5 separate regions of the Homo sapiens genome follow, and regions 1, 2, 4 and 5 are each linked to region 3. Evidence: promoter capture Hi-C in human tissues and cell types (Jung and others, 2019). All regions are on one chromosome and are shown on one strand. The core of a region is centred on a gene start or on the middle of the fragment in contact, and the rest is flanking DNA. Distances in the headings are between cores, read along the strand shown.

The links. Contacts are between HindIII fragments. The study calls those that stand out against the background at their distance.
Region 1: a contact is called between a fragment that was not itself captured here and the fragment with the promoter of MYC in region 3, in 1 of the 25 tissues and cell types used here (dorsolateral prefrontal cortex).
Region 2: a contact is called between a fragment that was not itself captured here and the fragment with the promoter of MYC in region 3, in 1 of the 25 tissues and cell types used here (dorsolateral prefrontal cortex).
Region 4: a contact is called between a fragment that was not itself captured here and the fragment with the promoter of MYC in region 3, in 1 of the 25 tissues and cell types used here (dorsolateral prefrontal cortex).
Region 5: a contact is called between a fragment that was not itself captured here and the fragment with the promoter of MYC in region 3, in 1 of the 25 tissues and cell types used here (dorsolateral prefrontal cortex).

The regions. Positions count from the first base shown.
Region 1 is chr8:128,796,011-128,798,710 of GRCh38, forward strand. No RefSeq gene overlaps it. Among named protein-coding and RNA genes, the nearest start is that of LINC00976, 170 kb to the right of the region's middle. The HindIII fragment of the contact is 3,980 bases long and covers 1-2,700 here.
Region 2 is chr8:129,066,142-129,068,841 of GRCh38, forward strand. No RefSeq gene overlaps it. Among named protein-coding and RNA genes, the nearest start is that of LINC00976, 100 kb to the left of the region's middle. The HindIII fragment of the contact is 3,749 bases long and covers 1-2,700 here.
Region 3 is chr8:127,734,793-127,737,492 of GRCh38, forward strand. It overlaps MYC (MYC proto-oncogene, bHLH transcription factor), which reads left to right and starts at 1,439. Exons shown (of 3, transcript NM_002467.6): 1 at 1,439-1,831. The coding sequence starts at 1,802. RefSeq lists a cis regulatory region at 1-667 and a silencer at 1,155-1,344. The HindIII fragment of the contact is 14,684 bases long and covers 1-2,700 here.
Region 4 is chr8:128,738,436-128,741,238 of GRCh38, forward strand. No RefSeq gene overlaps it. Among named protein-coding and RNA genes, the nearest start is that of LINC00824, 180 kb to the left of the region's middle. The HindIII fragment of the contact is 3,830 bases long and covers 1-2,803 here.
Region 5 is chr8:128,778,658-128,781,472 of GRCh38, forward strand. No RefSeq gene overlaps it. Among named protein-coding and RNA genes, the nearest start is that of LINC00976, 190 kb to the right of the region's middle. The HindIII fragment of the contact is 7,206 bases long and covers 1-2,815 here.

The DNA of each region.
Region 1 (2,700 bases), core at 29-2,528, 1.1 Mb after region 3:
GGAGAAGGGGTCATAACAGAGAGAGAGATGTTCTAGTACTTTCCATGGCCTCTACTTGAAGCACTTACAGCTAGAACCATGGAGTGCTATAGCTAAGGAATGCAAGAGCAGGATTAGTATTTATCGGGGCACCTAATTAATGTCAACTGTTCTATCTTCCACGTCGTAGTTAATGCATATGGTGTCTCCATAAGATAGAAATTATAATACCCATGTCACATGTGATGAATTGAGATGCAGAAAATGATAAAGTGAGTTACTTTAAGGAGGAATTGGAGAAAGAAGACAAATCTTCTTGCCCTTAGTCATTGTTCTTTCTGGCTTTCCAGAATACCACATACAGATCCTGATACACAGGCACGTGTCACTTAACCATGGGCACAGGCATGTACCATTTAACCATGGGGATACATTCTGAGAAATGCATCATTAGGCCATTTTGCCATTGTGTGAACATCATGGAGTGTACTTACATAAACCTAGAAGGTATGGCCTACCACACACCTAGGCTATATGGTATAGTCTATTGCTCCCAGGCTACAAACCTCTACAGCATGTTATTATGCTGAATACTGTAGCCAATTATAACACAATGGTAAGTATTTGCATATCTAAACACAGAAAAGGTACAGTATTATAATCTTATGAGATCACCAGGACATATATATGTCCTATTATTGACCAAAATGCCATTATGTAGCATGTAACTTTAGTTCCAAGCTCAGAAATGAGGCACAGTGATACTAGGCATGAGTTAAACTGGGCACAGGACACGGGAAGCCTAGAATGAATAGGAGTCCAGGAAAACATGCTAAGCAGTCAAGTGGAAAAGTCAATTCCCTCTTTGGTTCAAAGGTCAAGAATGAGTTTAGGAATTGAAGCCATCACTGAGTCAGGGATAAAATAAATTTAGGGATGCAGCAAGAAACAAGAAACAAAATCATAACTGAGGTGTAAAGTAGATTTTAAAGACAATATTCGTATGGACTGGCATGGTGCATGAGAGCCTGCTGCCAGGGCAAAGGGCTTGGGCAGCAGACAGACTCAGGTTTGAATATCAGCTTTGCTATTTTCAAACTTAGGCAGCATTTGCCCAATGTCAGGCTATATATATATATATTTGTATATATATTCACACAGAATCCTCTAAGTAACCCTATGAAATAATCACGATGATCTACTTCTACAGTAGGAGTAAAAAAACTGAGGCAGGCAGAAATTAAAGAAATTGCTCACATTCCCTATATTGGTTACCTGATGTTGCATAAAGAATCATCCCAAAATTTAGAAGTTTAAAACAATAAATATTTATTATCTCACATTTTCTGTGAGGTAGGAATCAAAACATGGCTTACCTGGATCTTCTGCTTCAACGTTTCTCATAAGGTTGCGTCTTTGTCTATTTTGTGTTGCTGTAACAGAATATCTGAGGCTTGGTCATTAATAAAGAAAAGAGGTTTATTTAGCTTATGTTTCTATAGGCAGAAAGTTCAAGGACATAGCCCTGGCTTCTGGTGAGGGCTTTCATGCTGTCTCATAACATGGCAAAGAAGGTCAGTGAGGAAGCAGATATGTGCAAAGAGACAAAACCCAAAGAGTGTCTTGACTTTATAACAACTAACTCTCAAGAGAGTGTGAACTTGCTATCGTGAGAAGGGCAGCAAGCTATTCATGAAGCATCTGTCCCCATGACCCAAATACCTCCCCGCTAGACCACCTCCCAACACTGCCACATATGGGAACAAATTTCAACATGAGTTTTCATGAGCGCAAATTCAAACCTTAGAAAGGTGTAATTAAGGCGTCCTCTGAAACAGGTTACATTTGAAGGCTTTACTGGGAAAGAATCTGTTTTCAGGTTAACTCACATAGCTGCTGGAAGAATTCAATTCCTCATGGGCATTGGACTGAAGGCCCTCATTCTTCACTGGCTGTTGGTGTGAGGTACCCTCAGTTTTTTGCCACAAAGACTTCTCTCACATGACAACTTGTTTAATCAAAGCCAGCAGCAGAGAGAGTCCACTAGTAAGAAACCACAATCTTTTGTAACTTACTCAACAAAATGACAGCCCCACTATGTTGCCATATTCTGTTGGTTACAGGTAGGTTATTCAAGAGGAAAAGATTAGAAGAAGTCCATGAATAACAGGAAATGGGGATCAACTGGGGCCATCTTAGATGCTGTCTATTTTCCCCCACTAGCAAGCAGCAAAGCTATGACTTGAACACAGGTATTCTGTTTCCAGAGTCCATGCTCTTAACCATTAAACTCTACAGCTACTGTGCCATGGGACCATGTGACCTGGGACTAAATAATTTACTTTGAGTCTCTGTTGTGTTTTTCTGTAGAAGATTCATTGATAATATCTGCATTTCAAGATTGTTGCTGGGATCAAATATAATGCATTCAAAATACCTAATACATTCACAGCTCCTAATGTATTGAAATGCACTCAAATGAACTGAAGTGTTGGTTAATATGGATATTGCTGTTTAATCAGAGTATCCCAGCATACCTGGGAGGATGAAGAGGGACTAGAAAACTCCTATTTTACAACATAGGAGCTATACTGACCTGTGCTGAGTCATCTCTGGCACTTTGGATTTTCCTTTTGCTTAGAAACTCCACTTAATTCCCAGTGTTTTCACTCTTCCCAGAAAGTGGGGCTGAATCTCTCTTTATAATAGGATTTCCTCTGT
Region 2 (2,700 bases), core at 125-2,624, 1.3 Mb after region 3:
TCAATACCAACCTACTCTGAAAAATAAAGGAGGAAAGAAGCCTAGGTAATGCATACTCAATACCTTACCAATTTCAGGGACGCTCTAAATAGTTACTCCTCCCTTGGGAAGAAATGAGAGCAGGAGTGGAAAGAAGGGCCACTTCCAAAAAAACAAATCAAAGAATCTGTTTTATAGAGGACCCAGACACAAACTCAAGAAGGAGAAGAAAATATTTCCTCCTATATAAAACGGCAATAAAAGGAAAGCCCGATATAGGATGCAATGGTATTCCAAGAGGGACACAAAAGGAGCTTAGCTGGTGGATGTAATGTACAGGAAAAAGAGGAATATTTTCTACAGGTAAATACCTCAGTAGAATAAGCAATGTCATAAAATCTAGCTAGTCCCTGGTATTGTACAGGCAGACAGCAGCAAAGATTTAAGAAAAGTCACTTCGATTATGGATGATGATGTTATGGGGAGAGATAAGAAGTCTGGATAGTGAGAAATTTTGTAATGAAGATACCCATGTCCAGTTTTTTCTGATTGTTTGTTTTTTTCAGGGACAGTTATCGATATTGACTATCCCTGTTTTGTACAGTTTGATGTTTGCCAGCAAGCGTACCACATCTTAAAATTTTTATTCACCTAATAGTTTTGCTGCAGAACAGTCAGTCGAAAGGCATTATTCAGAGGGCAAAGCATTTAAGAGAGGCCCTTTATGCCAAAATATCCAAGTATTGCAACTTTAGATACTTCCAAACATATTATTTTAATATCATTATTATTATGCTTCTGCTTTAAATGAGATTTTGCCACAGCTGGCTTTTTTCACTTGTTGTTTTTGGGTTATAATAGAATATAGTAGCTTCCAAGGACAAAAAAAATCAATACACACAGCTAAAAATACCTTGCTGTTATCTCAGCTTGCAGTTCTGCCAGCTTTAAAAAGAAAGAAAAGAACACTGGAGATAGGTTTTCAGGCCTTGGCATTTAGGATTCTATTTGATGATTTCCAAATCAATACACCAGAAATATCCCCAACATCTCTCTGTAGGGATGGCTCTCCTGCCTTGTTTTTCAGTATTACAAAACCTCTACTACTATGAGGTAGCTCTACTTTTCATTTCTCCCCATTACCTCCAACTTTCGGATATTTGCTCGTAAGTCTGGATGTGGTAAAGTTCTATGGAATGGGTGTATGCCTCTGTGTGTCAGGGACTGAAGAGGCACGTGTGTACTCAGTGTTCCCAGAAGCTTGGTTTCAAAAGTTAGGGGAGGCTGGGAGTCATGCCCAGAGCACAAGAAAAAAAAAGAAGTACTCTTTTTCTCAGTCCCTATCCAGGCGATGAGAAAATTTGCTTTTGGGGATTGGTCCAAACTCTTTTCTGGCTTGCAACATTTTCTCAAACTGGGGAACTTATTTTCTAGTAAATATCCCCTTCTTTACTGCTGACAGAAGAAACTGGAAGTCAATGCGGTTAATTTCAAATTTAACATGATTTAGTTTAAAAAAGCATTTACTAACACCCTTCCTGGTGTCCAGTGCTTTTTCAAATCCTTTGGGGAACATAAAAATTCAGCAAGACTCTTACTCCTTTACAAACAATTTAACATGCAAATTGTTTGCATCAAAGTATGAGTGTGAGTGAGTTTGTGGCAGGAATTCAAAGGAGAATCTATGGTAGAGACCATCTGGATTGGCTTTTCGGAGATGGTGAGTGTGATGGGACTTAAAGGACATTATCTTTTTCTTTTTCTTTTTCTTTTTTCAAGACAGAGTTTCTCTCTGTCACCCAGACTGGAGTGCAGTGGTGCGATCTCAGCTTCCAGGGTTCAAATGATTCTCCTGCCTCAGTCTCCTAAGTAGCTGGGACTGCAGGCGCACGCCACTGCACCTGGCTAATTTTTCTATTTTTAGTAAAGAAGGGTTTTCACTATGTTGTCCAGGCAGTCTCGAACTCCTGACTTCAGGTGATCCTCCCACCTCAGCCTCCCAAATTGCTGGAATTACAGGCGTGACCCACTGCGCCCGGCCAGCATTTGAACAAAGTGGAGACCATGATGTGAGACTTGTTGAAAATAGCAGGTTGTTGGTCCTTCTGGAGGACTTGAGGAGAGTAGGGGCTGGACTTACTGTTTCAGGTTCTTTAGGGCAGTTGCTTAAATGCCATTTGGAGCCAGAATTGAATATTAGTTTAACAAATGACCTCTGAAATCACACAGGCCTGAAATTTAAACCTGGGTTCTCTCCTACATTTTTGAATAATTTAATTAACCATCATCAACCTGAGGTTACCAAAATAGGTAAATAATATGACATAAGGCAATATTTAAGATAAAATGATATAATATCTTCATTTAACCAATAACCTTGAGGCAGACATGTAGAATTTTAAAAATTCTCGGCACTGAGGTATGTGTTTACACAAAACAGACAAAAATCATGATAAAAATTGTCTGGTACATGGTCACCAATCAATAAATGATAGCTCTTAGCTTGATGCATTAAGCTTTATGAGAGAGAGGCTGAGGTTTCCAGAATTGAAATTAAGAAACATACATCTGTCCTGAGGGAATAGGATGGAGTAGGGACAGGCAGAAAGCTGGAAGGCAGAGAGACTAGCTGAGAAGCTATCATCACAGTCTTCCTAATGAGTGTCACGACTGTGCAGGCAGTGGATAAAAAGTGCTGAGAAGCAGGGTCCAATATGGCAC
Region 3 (2,700 bases), core at 189-2,688:
TCTCCTCTTCTTTGATCAGAATCGATGCATTTTTTGTGCATGACCGCATTTCCAATAATAAAAGGGGAAAGAGGACCTGGAAAGGAATTAAACGTCCGGTTTGTCCGGGGAGGAAAGAGTTAACGGTTTTTTTCACAAGGGTCTCTGCTGACTCCCCCGGCTCGGTCCACAAGCTCTCCACTTGCCCCTTTTAGGAAGTCCGGTCCCGCGGTTCGGGTACCCCCTGCCCCTCCCATATTCTCCCGTCTAGCACCTTTGATTTCTCCCAAACCCGGCAGCCCGAGACTGTTGCAAACCGGCGCCACAGGGCGCAAAGGGGATTTGTCTCTTCTGAAACCTGGCTGAGAAATTGGGAACTCCGTGTGGGAGGCGTGGGGGTGGGACGGTGGGGTACAGACTGGCAGAGAGCAGGCAACCTCCCTCTCGCCCTAGCCCAGCTCTGGAACAGGCAGACACATCTCAGGGCTAAACAGACGCCTCCCGCACGGGGCCCCACGGAAGCCTGAGCAGGCGGGGCAGGAGGGGCGGTATCTGCTGCTTTGGCAGCAAATTGGGGGACTCAGTCTGGGTGGAAGGTATCCAATCCAGATAGCTGTGCATACATAATGCATAATACATGACTCCCCCCAACAAATGCAATGGGAGTTTATTCATAACGCGCTCTCCAAGTATACGTGGCAATGCGTTGCTGGGTTATTTTAATCATTCTAGGCATCGTTTTCCTCCTTATGCCTCTATCATTCCTCCCTATCTACACTAACATCCCACGCTCTGAACGCGCGCCCATTAATACCCTTCTTTCCTCCACTCTCCCTGGGACTCTTGATCAAAGCGCGGCCCTTTCCCCAGCCTTAGCGAGGCGCCCTGCAGCCTGGTACGCGCGTGGCGTGGCGGTGGGCGCGCAGTGCGTTCTCGGTGTGGAGGGCAGCTGTTCCGCCTGCGATGATTTATACTCACAGGACAAGGATGCGGTTTGTCAAACAGTACTGCTACGGAGGAGCAGCAGAGAAAGGGAGAGGGTTTGAGAGGGAGCAAAAGAAAATGGTAGGCGCGCGTAGTTAATTCATGCGGCTCTCTTACTCTGTTTACATCCTAGAGCTAGAGTGCTCGGCTGCCCGGCTGAGTCTCCTCCCCACCTTCCCCACCCTCCCCACCCTCCCCATAAGCGCCCCTCCCGGGTTCCCAAAGCAGAGGGCGTGGGGGAAAAGAAAAAAGATCCTCTCTCGCTAATCTCCGCCCACCGGCCCTTTATAATGCGAGGGTCTGGACGGCTGAGGACCCCCGAGCTGTGCTGCTCGCGGCCGCCACCGCCGGGCCCCGGCCGTCCCTGGCTCCCCTCCTGCCTCGAGAAGGGCAGGGCTTCTCAGAGGCTTGGCGGGAAAAAGAACGGAGGGAGGGATCGCGCTGAGTATAAAAGCCGGTTTTCGGGGCTTTATCTAACTCGCTGTAGTAATTCCAGCGAGAGGCAGAGGGAGCGAGCGGGCGGCCGGCTAGGGTGGAAGAGCCGGGCGAGCAGAGCTGCGCTGCGGGCGTCCTGGGAAGGGAGATCCGGAGCGAATAGGGGGCTTCGCCTCTGGCCCAGCCCTCCCGCTGATCCCCCAGCCAGCGGTCCGCAACCCTTGCCGCATCCACGAAACTTTGCCCATAGCAGCGGGCGGGCACTTTGCACTGGAACTTACAACACCCGAGCAAGGACGCGACTCTCCCGACGCGGGGAGGCTATTCTGCCCATTTGGGGACACTTCCCCGCCGCTGCCAGGACCCGCTTCTCTGAAAGGCTCTCCTTGCAGCTGCTTAGACGCTGGATTTTTTTCGGGTAGTGGAAAACCAGGTAAGCACCGAAGTCCACTTGCCTTTTAATTTATTTTTTTATCACTTTAATGCTGAGATGAGTCGAATGCCTAAATAGGGTGTCTTTTCTCCCATTCCTGCGCTATTGACACTTTTCTCAGAGTAGTTATGGTAACTGGGGCTGGGGTGGGGGGTAATCCAGAACTGGATCGGGGTAAAGTGACTTGTCAAGATGGGAGAGGAGAAGGCAGAGGGAAAACGGGAATGGTTTTTAAGACTACCCTTTCGAGATTTCTGCCTTATGAATATATTCACGCTGACTCCCGGCCGGTCGGACATTCCTGCTTTATTGTGTTAATTGCTCTCTGGGTTTTGGGGGGCTGGGGGTTGCTTTGCGGTGGGCAGAAAGCCCCTTGCATCCTGAGCTCCTTGGAGTAGGGACCGCATATCGCCTGTGTGAGCCAGATCGCTCCGCAGCCGCTGACTTGTCCCCGTCTCCGGGAGGGCATTTAAATTTCGGCTCACCGCATTTCTGACAGCCGGAGACGGACACTGCGGCGCGTCCCGCCCGCCTGTCCCCGCGGCGATTCCAACCCGCCCTGATCCTTTTAAGAAGTTGGCATTTGGCTTTTTAAAAAGCAATAATACAATTTAAAACCTGGGTCTCTAGAGGTGTTAGGACGTGGTGTTGGGTAGGCGCAGGCAGGGGAAAAGGGAGGCGAGGATGTGTCCGATTCTCCTGGAATCGTTGACTTGGAAAAACCAGGGCGAATCTCCGCACCCAGCCCTGACTCCCCTGCCGCGGCCGCCCTCGGGTGTCCTCGCGCCCGAGATGCGGAGGAACTGCGAGGAGCGGGGCTCTGGGCGGTTCCAGAACAGCTGCTACCCTTGGTGGGGTGGCTCCGGGGG
Region 4 (2,803 bases), core at 89-2,588, 1.0 Mb after region 3:
AAACATTATTTACATTGTGCCAATTTTTCTATATATTTAATGCTAGTGAGGACTTACAGCAAAACTTTGAGACAGGCAATGTTATCCTTCATTTAGTAGGTAAGAAAGCCAAGACTTGGGGGTCAAGTAACTTCTCCAATCACATCTACACCGTTAATAAATGCCAGAACCTATTTCCAAATTTATGTGCATCTGATTCCAAAAATCTATATCCTACCCCCTACATTATTTTATCCCTATGCCTCATTCAGAGCAGTGTGATGGAGTCTGAGGATGGGAATATAACAAAGGAAGCAATGTAGGCCTTACATTTTAAAGTGTTCTGAACTAATAAGGGAAGAAAGGCATGTAGACAATGAGCCATATCACGTGACAGAATAAAATATGGGCTTGGCTAGATATAAACGACGTACTGAGGATGACAGATAAAAGAGCATTTCATTGATATTTCTGTAAGGGATAGTATGTACTCTCTAGTACTTACTAGATATGATGTTATTGGACCTGAATGCAAAGAAAGATATTGAATCAAGCTTAATAGGTTAAGAATTAAGGGACAACCATCATGCACAAAGAAGGGGAAGGGATTATAATGCATGGACAGAAATAAAGTTGAAAAAAATGCTTGCAGTTAGATCATGGAAATTCTTGAATACAGCCATAGGCAGTTTGGACTCAGTACTTTGCACGATGGAGGTCAACAGGAGATATTAATATTTGGAGAAGGAAGATAAGTGATCTGTTGTATTGATATCTAGGGAAAATCATTATTTAAAAAATAACCATAGCTTACTTTGAATAGGTGCTATAGAGTTTGGGGAATTATACAAGTATCTTTTCCTTCAAATTCCCATATTGTCTCTTAGCTAGATGGCCTGGAATTTTCTTCCTTTGTATTTAAAATTTGTAATAAGTAATCTAAGAATACAAACTAGAAGTTTTATTAATGTGTCTTCTCATGCATCACAAACCCAGAAGAAATGTCATAAACCTCCACATCTTCTCTACCTACCTGGGAAGAGCAATATTTTAATAATGAGGAGTATGGAAAAAGGTGGAGAAGAGGGCCTAGCTACAATGGCGTAGGTTCAGAATCATGACTGTGGTCTTTAGAAACCCTAAAAGGAATAAAGGTAGGCATCCCAGTCCTAGAGAAACTGGAATATCAGGCAGGTAGATAGGTATCAGACATTTACAAAATTCATACCTTGGATCCACAGTCTAGAACTTAGGGCAAAATTTGGAATAGAATCCAGAGCTTGACTTCCCTGGTAATAGATGACCAGGCCATGAGATTATTTTTCTTCTCACAGGGAAAAACTGGTTACAAAGAATGAGATGAGGTTAAGTCTGCTAGCAAAGCAGAATAGTTCCAGTTTTATAGTCAGATAGCCAAGGGATCAGAAAATGTGGCTAATTTATGCAATACAAAGAGACATCACAGGTTGTGTTTGGGGAAGTCAAAGGTCTATTGGAGTACTTAAATTTGAGAGAAGGCAATGAGTATCAGTTTTTCTAATAGGAATTTCTAGTGAAACAACAACAACAACAACAACAACAAATCGATATTAGGTTGTAAAGTAGGAGGTCAAGCAAAGCTCTCAGTAGCAAATAGATGTAGCCTTGATTACTGTCTTTCCCTTTGACTTGATGTGTTATGTTGATCTAGACAGAAAAGCTGTCTGAACCTTTATTCATTAATATGTGAAATGGTAATAAAGATGACTACTTCATAAACAGACTATGAGGATTTCAATAAAATAGTTTACCTGAAATGAAGATAAGCTGTCTGTGACAAGCAGGCTCTAATATGATACCCACCTGCTAGTGTTTATGCCTGTATGTGATCCTCTTCCCTTGGTTGCTGGCTGGCTTGACGATTTGCTTTTAATTAATTGAATGTGGTGAAGTGGCAGGATATCACTTCCCTGATTAGGTTACATATGACTGTGGCTTCTCTCTTGCTAGGGAATTCTTCCTCAATTGTTTGTTGAAGTTAACTATTGCATGAAGAGGCCCATGTAGCAAAGAACCAAGAACAACCTCCTGTCGGCAGCCAATGAGGAACTTAGACCCCCGATGTAACAGCACGCAAGGAATGGAATTCTGCCAATAACTAGATAAGTTTAGAAAGCAAATCCTTCCCTGGTTGAGCCTTCTGATGAGACACCAGTCCTAGCTGACACGTTGATTACATCCTGTGGTGGTTAATGTTGTGTCAACCTGGCTAGACTGTGGTTCTCAGTGGATTGGCTAAATATCAGTCCAGATGTTGCTGTGAAGGGTTTTTTTTTTAAATGTGATTAAGATTTAAGTCAGTAGACTGAATAATTATCAACATTCATATAAGTAGACTTTGAGTAAAGCAGATTCTACCCATAATGTGGGTGGGCTTCATGCAATCAGTTAAAGGCCTTAAGAGCAAAGAAAGACTGAGGTTGACCCCAAAAGAAAGAGTTTTCCTTCAAGATAGCCACATAAAATCCCAGCTTGAGTTTCTAGCCTGTTCATCTTTGGTATGTGGACTAAGATTGCCACATCAACCCCTGCCAGAACTCCAGACTGTGAGCCTGCCCTACAGAGTTCAGATTTGCCAGTCCCCAAAAATCACATGAGAAAATTTCTTAAAATAAATTTATCTCTTTTTCTCTTTAAATATAAAAGAACTTAAAGCAGAAGATCTCACTAAGTTATGCCTGTATTTCTGATCCACGAAAATAATAAAACAATATTTATGGGCTATTTTGCCTCTATATTTGTGGTAATTTGTTATACTGCAGCTGTCCAATGAGAGATTTTAAAC
Region 5 (2,815 bases), core at 204-2,703, 1.0 Mb after region 3:
TCCAAAGCCACGCAGCTATTATGTGTTGGAGCCAGAATTTTAACTGAGTTTGCCTTACAAGAAGAGTTTCTCAGCTTCAACACTATTAAAGTTTCGGTTCAGATAACTCTCTATTGTGGCGACTGTCTAGTGTATTGTTGGATATTTAGCAGTATCCCTGACTTTTACTCACTAGATGCCAGTAGTGCCCCTTCCCCAGCTTGTGACAACCAAAAATACTCTAGACATTGCCCAATGTCCCTTAGGGGTAAAATGGTCCCAGTTCAGAACCACTGCCTTACCAGAAAGTATCCTACTCTGCCTGAGTCCAATGGTGTCATTTCTGCTCTTTGCACCCAACATTAAACACTTGTAAAGTCTATACTCATCATGAAGAATTTCCTTCTTTTCACTAAACATTTCCTTCAGCAATATAAAAAGCCTGCACTAGTTCTATAATTTTTTATTATTTTAACTAATTCTTCAAGAAAGTTTAGGAAGCCCTTCACATTATGGAAAAGTGAGTTCAAAAAGGATGATGTTCCATAGTTTACTGCTGTTATTATTGTTGTTCAGATCATTATTGATCATCTCTCCTATTGTCATTTTTGTTTTAATGTAAAAATAACCAGACATGACTTAATTTTACAGTAACAACATCACTTCCCATCTGATTTGAGTTCAATAGGGATCACCGTAGATCTGCACTTGGCTGTGCATTTGTCATACTGTGCCAGGAATAAGCTTCTTTCCTTGTCTGTCCACATTTGGCTGCAGAATCTTTGCTCCATTATCAGTCTGTGTCTACCTTTGTCTGGATAGCTATCTATAATAATATACGAACTGTTTTAACCTCATAAGTTAGTAAAGAGAGACAGAATATTAGCTGAGAATGATAGGGTCACACTATGAAATAAAAAATATAATTTGTTAAACAGTCAATGAAGACAACCTTACTTATGCAACTATCTAAAATATAAAATAATGGACACTTGGTGTTAATTTTTGCTTTTCCTGACCAAGCAACTTGAAAAATATTTGATCGAGAAAGGTGTCTTAGTCCATTTTCCATTGCTATAACAGAATACCACAGACTGGGTAATTTATAAATAATAGAGGTTTATTTAGCTCATGGTTCTAGAGTCTGGGAAGCCTGAAAACATGGCAGTGGCATCTGGTGAGGACCTTGTGCTATGTCAAGATATTGTGGAAGGCATTCCCTGATGAGACAGGACAAGCATGCTAGCTCAGGTCTCTCTTTTACTCTTTATACAGCCACGAATACCATCATGGGGGCCACACCCTGATGACCTCATTTTATCTTAATTACCTCCCAAAAGCCCCGTCTCCAGATTCCATCATCATATTAATCTGGGGATTAAGTTTTCAATACAAAATTTGGGAGACACATTCAAACCGTAGCAGAAGTCTCAGAAGAATGCCTCTGGTCTTTTCTTAAATGTGCTTTAAAAAACAAACAAATAATAATAAAAAAAAAACCTGAATTCCAAGACAACCACTGATGGTCTTTTGGGACACAATTTATATACATCTTTTTCATGATGAAGATCTTAAGTATAGTAAGATCTAGGAAAAATTAAATTGGGGAAATCAGACCACATAACATCAAACATACATTTCTGACAATTTTATACACTGGACTGTCTCCTTCTCAATAGAAAGTCTCATATATTTTTTTTGCTCAGAGTGGTAACCATCATGTCCTGAGAGGTGAGTCCCAACATTCATGCACTGGTGATCACAAGTTACTCTCCGCTGGCTATGACAAGTCCTACTAAACTCTGTCTCAAAGCTGTGGCAGTGCCAGTCAGTTCTTACCTCAAATAGCCTCATGATTTCAGTTTACTAGTCCAACATTCACTGAGCATTTTTGTAGAAGCTGAGAAGACATAGACTGATATAATATGGTCTCTGACCTCAAAGAGCATTCAGTCTGATCAAAACTGAAATAAAAACAGATAATTAAAAGTGTTTAGCCAATGTGATGGTGGAAGAAAGGATGGAATGCTGAGGGGTCCAGAGGAAGACATTCTCTTACAAGCCCTGAGAAGAAATTTGAGGAAGTTTTGAGGATTCTGAGGAGAGTCTAGAAGGACAAATGAGAGTTGGAAAAGGAAGGGGAGACAGAGATCCCAAAGGCAGTAACAAGTAAAGGTCAAGAGTATAATGAAAGCATAGTGCTGTGAGAGCCACAAGTAAGATAGAGAAAAGAATGGTGGTAGTGGGAGAGTGACTGCCTCAGAGGAAGCTAGGTTTTAACTGTGCTGTTTATGACTTCATCCCTGGTTCTTAGCATTTAGAAAAATGGTTTTCAACCTTGGCTGAATATTGAAATCATCTGTGAAACTTTAAAATATAACTGATGCCTATACCTCTACCCACAATTTTTTTAGTTGATCTGGAGCAAAGCATGAATATTCCAGAAAATAAATTCACATGACATGTTCCAAAATGGCGGAGTACTTAGAGTACTAGTTGTCTGAGATGTAAGAAGTAAAAAGTTTCTCTTTCTCTCTCTTCCTTTCTCTTTCCCTCTCCCTCTCACTTTCCATCTCCCTCTTCCTCCACCCTCTTTTTCTTATTCTCTTTCTCACTATCAGAAAGCACTTTAGCTCTAAGAACTCTATTGCTGAAAATCACTATAGGTTTCAGAACATTATTTAAATTTGTAAAAGGACAGAAGTGAAGAGCTATACTATGTATAGATTTAAAAGTTCAACAAAATATATTTATTTAGTCAATTCAATCAATAACTAAAGAGAACTTTCTGTGGTTCTAGTTACTCCTCTAGGCTCTCAGAATACAGGGATAAACC